Regions from separate parts of the Homo sapiens genome. Here region 1 is linked to region 2. The links are contacts of gene promoters, found by promoter capture Hi-C in human tissues and cell types (Jung and others, 2019). All regions are on one chromosome and are shown on one strand. Each heading gives the region's core, a stretch centred on a gene start or on the middle of the fragment in contact. The rest is flanking DNA. Distances are from core to core; before and after follow the strand shown.

Region 1 (3,604 bases), core at 968-3,467, 1.4 Mb before region 2:
ATTGAATTTTGAACTAATTTATTAAAAAAGTATTAACGTAGCCAGCTTTTGCATTTCTATTGCATTATAAATATAGGTAATACAAGTTTATTGTAGGAAAATAAGAATATAAATAAAGTGAAAATAAAATAAAAACCACTCAATTCTGCCACCCAGAGATAACCTCTTCAACATTTATGTCACCATCTAGTTTTTTGGTATGCATATAAAAACTTTTCTAAAATTATGGTATCATGCTATATATGCTGCTCTATAATTTGCATTTCACATAATAAATTATGGATATTTTTCCATATTAATCATTCTACAATACTTTTAATGATTCAACAGAATTCTTTTGTATGCATGTTTTACAGTACCCTTTTGTTGTATCTTTTTGTTGATCCCAACCTTTTAATGTTATAAATATCACAGATAAGCATCCTTGTAGCCAAGTCTCTGCTTACACCCTTAATTATTCACTTACAATAAATTAGAAATGGAATTACTGAGTCAATGTATATCTATTTCAAAAATTTTATTTGATACATATTGTCAAGTTGCCCTTGAGAAGGGTTGTTAGTTTATACTAATACTCGCATCTCCACTCCAATGCCACCTTCTTTCATTAAATGGTAGGACCTCTGGTTTCTTTGGCCGACTATGAGCCTCCTTGACTTTACTGGGTAAAACAGCCAGTTCAAAGGCCACTGCACATGGTTAAGGCTTCTTTATCCTCTGGTGTGCTTTATTTTCCTCAAATCCTAGATGGGAGATTACCTCCTCATATGCTGTGATATCTTAAACTGGGTTCAGGGCAGAAAGGCAGCATTCCCCAGCCAGTTCTTTTACTAGCATTTAGACTTTTTCTCAGCTGGTAAGCTAGACAATCAGAATTGATTGTAGGCTGTCTCAGTTACATCTGTGTACAGGTAGTGTTCTCAACTGTTTCACTGTTAGAGAGGGTGTAGCCTTCCATCATTTAGGTATATTATGATTAGATTCCTGAATTTCCCAGTTCTCTTTTTTTCACCTTCTTGCATCACATCTGAGCATGATACTTTTGTTAAAATAACTGGTGAGATTCTGATTATCTAGCTAACAGCTGGATAGCGCTTTCTTGATTCCGCTCTTTATCACTGTATGGTAAACCTACCTAACAGCAGTAGTTTAAGCATACTATTAGAATGATCCTGTATGGCAGACTCACCTGAATGTGTCTTCTGAGCTTCACTGGGCTGTGTAGTTACCTTGTCCAGCCCACTGCCACTGGACCTTTTCTGTATATAAGGCAGTTCTCCTGCTCAGCCTGCCACCACTGGACTCTCTCCCTTGTATGTAATCCCTTAATAAAATACCATGCCTCATTTGGTGGCTCTGGGTTTCTTCAGCCTCTTGAACCTGGTGCCATCCCCACTGGAGTCGATGGAGGGGTTCAGCATGAAGTCACCTAATTCAAAGGACAGGTCTATGTGTGGGATGATGCAAGTGGCATCATTTCTGGTGGCATTATTGGGCATTTTCCAGGAATGTTACATGCTGATTTGATCAATCCCTTTCCTCTGGTTGCAGGAACCCTATGATTATTTCATACAATCCCCAACAGTTTAGGCAGCCTAGGGTACAGGCTCTGGAGGCAACCTCCTGGATTTGAAAAGCAGAGGTTCTGGGGACAACCTCCTGAATTTGAATCATGACTGCCAGTTGATAGCTGTGTGACCTAAAACAAGTTTCTTAACATCTTGAATCTTTCCTTTTTCCAACCATAAAATGTGAAGACTCATACTACTTTTTTATCAGATTTGATGATTAAAAAGTTACTCCATATTAGCAGCACAGTGCCTGGCACATAGAAGGTGCTTAATGAAATACTAACTAAATTGGCTATAATAATAGTTTGACCCCCTTAAATTATAGATCTATTTGTGGTATTTGCAGGGGCTCTAGATTTTTGTATCTTGATTTTTTGGAATACTACTGTAGAATTTGACTCAGAAGTCTTCTCCTCCTCTGAGAAGATGCTGGTGGGAAACCCATATGTCAGCATTTCTCTAATTATGACCACATGGATGCTGATGCCCTCTGATTTGGGGTTATAACCTGTTGATCAGTTCCAGGTTTCCAGATTGTTGATCAGTTCCAGATTTCTAATCTTGAAGTAAAATCTTAGTCCTTTGGATGCCTTTAGCCGTTCTGACCTTTTCATGAACCTCTGATCTCTGTTTTATTAGGTAGTACAGTGTAGTCCTTTAAGAGCATAGACTTAGGAATCAAACTGTCTTAATTTGAATCCTGGCTGTGTGACATATTAGCTTTGATATTCTAGGCAAGCTGCTTAACTTCTCCATGCGTCAGCTTCCTCATTGGAAAATGAGGATAATAATAGTAACTTACTTCATAGGATTCTTGAAAGGATTAAATGAATTAATAATATGTATAGAGCTTAAGATAGTACTTGGCACTTAAGAGTACCAAAGTGCTCTTTTGCTCAGTCTATTGATTATCCTTTTACTTGATTGATAATGATTATAAACATAACTTTAAGCTGTGCTGCGTTGAAGAGAGTAACTTATATCTTGTACATCTTAGATTACTTTGATTCATTCCATAACAGTGGTTGCAGTTGTGCTTGGCTAGGGTGTATATGATGCTTTTTCTTGTTGGTGTAGCAGTTGCCTTAGTCTAAATCCATAGTCACATCATTGTATTTTTTTGTTGTTGTTATGAGGGCCTGGTAATTGTGCTACATCACCAAAAGACATTTGCTGAGATTGCCTGTGCAGACTTCCTATGGAGACTTATCTCATATATTTTACTATGATCTAGCAGAATTGGCATTTGTCAAAACATGTCTTCAGACCTGTGTCACCTAGAACTTTTAGTTGTCACCACATGAATCTTATAAAATATAATTTTCTAGATAAGCTTCAGATAATTTATATTGCCTTTATTCATCTCTGTTTATCTATTTATCCATCAGTGTTTGTAAGGTAACGGGAGGCTTGAGATCTGATATAAAAATCTGAGACCTTCGTAGGCATCCTTTAAGGTTGATAGAATCCCATGGGGCAGATGAAAGTTGTCTTTGCCCTTCTTTACCCATAAGGCTTTGATTAGAAAAAAAAATGAAATGACTATATGTAACATGGGCTCATTCTATAAGTACATTTTTGGAATTTGTTTTATCAGTACATTGTGTATATGTTTTAGGACAGAGGTTATAGGTAGAGAAACTGATAAGTGAGAGGGCTCCTAGGTAGAAAGCAAGTCAGATTAGATAAATTCATAGCAGGCTATGCAGCTGGAGTGTAACAAGGGAGAGGAAGTCTGGGGAGATGAAGCAGGTGAGGTAGGCAGTGGACAGATCATTTGAGATCTTATAGGTCATGTTAAAGATTTTCAGTTTTATCCAAGGTACAATGGGAAGCTATTGAAGAATACTGATCAGGAAGAGTGATGCTATCATTACCCTAGCTGAAGTATATAGAGAACTGATTACTGGGGAGAAAGATTGTTACCAGAGTCTGATTAAGAAAAATTTTGCTACAGTGAAGGTTGAGATATAGGTTGAGATATGATAGTAACTTTTACTAAGATAGTAGTAATAATTCTAATGTCACAGGAT
Region 2 (4,077 bases), core at 812-3,311:
CCCCCGCCATCAACACCCTTTTAGGGATCCCGAGCTTTTCAATGTGAGTGGGAGGAGAAAAGGGCAGGAAGTGTTGACTGGAAGTGGGTGAAATCGTGCCTCGGGGTGAGAGATTCTGCTCAGGAATATAGGGTCGGGAAAATCTTGGAAAATGAGGATTTAGATCTGTTTATGAAGCCCCGCTATCGGATGGGAACCAACTCCGCGCGCGTCTCCTCCTCTTCCTTTATTGTATGGATTTATAGGTATATATCTTCTCGGACTGTTGCTTGGGGGGAGGGAGGAGAAAGGGCGAGTATTTAAAGAGGACAGACTTGCCCAGGATCCTTAACACCGCGCCTTCACCGGATGCGCGCTCCTCAATGCAAAGGAATCCAGCAACATCCCCAATTCAGACGCGGACAAAAGAAACTTTAATTAAGGTCTCTTTCTGCCCCGCGCGCTGCGCGTTTCTCTCTCCTGAGGCTGTTGATGTCCAACTCCAAGATCCAAGAAATAGAAATGGTACAATCAGCCCATGCCCTTGAACTTCAATTGCTCCTGACTTGCTGCATTGATTTTTTTGATACTGTAGAACCCCCATCCCCAACCCCCACCGCTCCCAGTCCAATTAAAACCGTAGGAGACTTTCGACCTGGTGGTGGAGGGGGGGAACCACTCCTTTGCAAAAGAGATAGTTCAGAATGATACGGGAGAGATTACACTAAATAAAAATTCAAGGTGTGAAAGCTTCATCTTGGCTCGCGTGTCTTCAACACCATGACACCTTATCATTAAGAGCGCTGATTGTTACTTTCCGAGCCTTTAGATGATCAGCCAGAAAGTGCAAACAACGCGGGGCTGGAGGGTGTAAAGTTATTTAAGCAGGCGTTCTTTTTTTCTTTTGGTGCGCAGTCAAAACATTTCACAAGTTAGGAAAAGAAAGTGGTGGTTCCGAAGCTCGGAATGATGGGCTCTTTTCCTCCTCCACCCCCCCACCTTCCATATCAGGAAAGAAATAAAACGCACAATGAGCCTTTATTTCAGGAGAGAAGACTTCAAAATACGTGCCAGTAATGGACAATTTGAGCTTTTCACTGGAAATACTCACACCGCAAGCTGGAAAGGGATTAAAAAGCCCCACGTGGTTGATCTGGGTTTATACTTGCAACCTCCAGTTCCCCACGTATGTTCTTTGCAAAGGTTGGCCTCTAGATGGATGCAAGTAAGGGACCCTCTGGGGCTCGGGCTCGGCGCCTCGGGCAGGGCTGACGTTGGGAGCGCTATGAGCTGCCGGGCAGGGTCCTCACCGGGGGCTTCCTCTGCGGGCCAGGGCTGCCGGGCGCCACCGGGACGCGAGCGCGCACGCCTCGGCCCGGCGGCCGCGCTCCTCGCACCGCCTTCTCCGCAGGTCTTTATTCATCATCTCATCTCCCTCTTCCCCTTCTCCTTCTCCTTTGCCTCCTTCTCCTTTGCCTCCTTCTCCTCCTCTTCCTCCCCCTCCTCCACCACCACCTCCTCCTCCTCTGCCGCCGCCACCTCCTCCTCTTGCATCTCACTGGCCTGGCTCTGAGTGACAAAGACAATGTCCCAGCCTTAACTTTGCAACCACCTTGCCTCCTTCTGGGGTTCAGCAGGGGGGAGGGGGAACAGCAGCAGCAGCCTCAGCATCTCCTCCAGCTTCTCCTTCTGCTCTTCTCGAGCTCTTGGATAATTCTTCCTCTTTTTTCCCCTAGCCTTTTTCCTCATTTCTTTCTTTCTTTCTTTTTTTCCTTCCTCTCTGCTGCACGTTGTTGTTGTTATTAGAAAGGCTTCGCGCACCCCCTGGTGCTCCGGCGTTTTGTGTGGCAGGAGAAGATTGTCTTCCTTCTCTCTTTCTGTCTTGCTTTCTCTCTCCCCCTGGTTGCTCATTATTCAGAGAGAGACACAGAGGGAGGGAGAGAGAGAGAGCGCGCGAGGGAGAGGGAGGAGAGGAGAGAGAAGAGGAGAGAGAGGGGAGAGAGAGAGTGAGAGGGAGAGGGAGGGAGGGAGAGAGAGAGAGAGGGAGAGAGACGGATATCTCAGGTCATCTGCAGCTGCAGCGAGTCTGAGGAGCCGAGGAAGGCAGGGAAGATGGCGATCCTCCATTGCTGAGACCCGGCAGAAGCACATGAGACTCCCAAACAACTTCCACAACAATAACCCGAGCAGGAAGAGGAGAAAGAGAAAGAGGATAAGGAGGCGGTGGGGCTGGAGAACCCGAAGCACCTCCCGGCGCCGGGACGCTTCTTCTGTAAGTTACTGCAATTAACAACCACCTCGGGGTGGTCCGAGTGCTCCGGGGAAGAGAGCGCGGGGTGGTGGAGGCACAAACGCGCTCATTCATTCGGCCAAGGAGGGTTGGAGGAGCGGGGAGGAGAGGAAGTCCCCTGCATGGACTGGCTGTTGGAAGAGGAGAAGAAGCGAGAGAGAAGAGGAGGAGGGGGAGGAGGGAGAGCAGGAGGGGGAGGAGGAAGAGGAGGAGGAGAAGCGAGGGAGGAAGAGGAGGAGGAGGAAGAGGAGGAGAAGGTGGTAGTGGTGGCAGTGGAGGTGGCTGTGCTTTTCCTGCTGGCTGCTGCTCCTGCTGGGGGGAGTGAGCGCGGTGGCTTAATTAATTTCGTGTAGTTCTATGAAGAGAAGAGAAAATGAAAGATGAGTGAGAAGAGAGCTGGAGGCTTAGGACGGATGCTCCGAGTGTGGGGACAGGAGTAGGGACAGAGGGGGGCGGAGGGCGGGAGGCCGGAGACCTGAGCCGAGAGCCAGAGGGAGCGAGCGAGGGTCAGAGGAGGGAGAGCTCCGTGCGAGCGGCCCCGACCTGAGCGGGTTGACCTCTTTCTTTCTCTGTCCCTCTCCTTCCTTTCCCCCTTCTGTCTGCCTGTCCCCCGCCCGATGGCAAAGCCGTGCGGATTGGCAGCCCCCCTCTTCCTCAGGTATTTGGCTCTCTCTCTCTCTCTCTCTCTCTCTCTCTCTCTCTCTCTCTCTCTCTCTCTCTCTCTCTCTCTCTCTCTCCCTCTCCCCGAAGTTGGGATGCGGGGTCGGGATGTGTCGGGGGGTGGCTGCTGCAGCTGCTGGTGCCGGTGCTGCTGGTGAACAGAGAGGCGAGGAGCGGGGGGCACCGGCCGGGTGGGGGGCGCAGGTTCAGGAGCGGCTGAGGAGCTGTCTCCAGGCTGGAGGTTCAGAAGCGTCTGGTGGAGGAGGACAACGGTTTCTGGAGAGGAGAAGCCATTACACACGCTTGGCTCTCCTCTGAGGAAGGGAGAAAGGAAGGCAGGGGCCTGGGGGGGCGTCTCACTCCTGGTGCAGTTCCCAGGGGTCTGCCCTCCTTCCAGGCACGAGGGGAAGCCGCAGCCGCCCCCCATTGGAGCAGCCCCTCTTTCCCTTTCTTTATCTCCCTGTCCTCCATTTGCAAGCTGTCTGCTTTGGTTCCAGTCCAGACTCCAAAACACAAAGCTCCTTCTCACGTTCATTCTCCAGGCTGTTCACCATTCCTGAAGGAACCCTCGTTTTCTTTTCATTGTGGCTTCTAACCTACAGAGAGGGAGGGAGGGAGGCTGCCTGGAGTTCCTTTTATATTCCTCCCCAACCAAGAAAAAAAAAAGTTTCATTTTTAAGCACGCGTCTGGGATGGGGAAAGACCAACCAGTTGGGGCTTTCTCCCAGGGCTCCCGGGGGCTGTGTCTGAGTGTCTGTGTTGGCTGTTTGGTTTGCTTTGGTTTTGTTTCTGGAGGTTGCTTGCAGGTTTTTGGAGGAAGTGACTAGTTTGGTTAAGAGCTGGGAACTGAGTCAGGTAAGCCGTGTCATGTTGTAACTCCACCAGAAAATGGAGGAGAGCGGGTTTCCAGGAGACAAAGCTGAGATGAGAAGTGTTTATAAAATTATGGATGTCTCCATTTTGAAGCTCTGTTGGTGATGGCTGGAGGAGGAGGAGGCTTGCTTGCCTACTCCTTCTCTCTTTCCAGAGGGAAACCTTGTGGTGGTTCCTCACTGTCTATTCATTATGCAAGGAAATGAGGGCTTTTAAGGGTTCCTCAGATTTTTCTCCACCAAAGAGTGCTTTCACAAGTTATTGAGGCGTTTGTT

Evidence for each region. Contacts are between HindIII fragments. The study calls those that stand out against the background at their distance.
Region 1: a fragment that was not itself captured here is called in contact with the fragment with the promoter of ZNF462 in region 2 in 1 of the 25 tissues and cell types used here (dorsolateral prefrontal cortex).

Annotation. Positions count from the first base shown.
Region 1 is chr9:105,453,985-105,457,588 of GRCh38, forward strand. All of the region lies in intron 1 of FSD1L (fibronectin type III and SPRY domain containing 1 like), which reads left to right. Among named protein-coding and RNA genes, the nearest start is that of FSD1L, 7.8 kb to the left of the region's middle. The HindIII fragment of the contact is 4,090 bases long and covers 173-3,604 here.
Region 2 is chr9:106,861,105-106,865,181 of GRCh38, forward strand. It overlaps ZNF462 (zinc finger protein 462), which reads left to right and starts at 2,062. Exons shown (of 13, transcript NM_021224.6): 1 at 2,062-2,251. The HindIII fragment of the contact is 13,314 bases long and covers 1-4,077 here.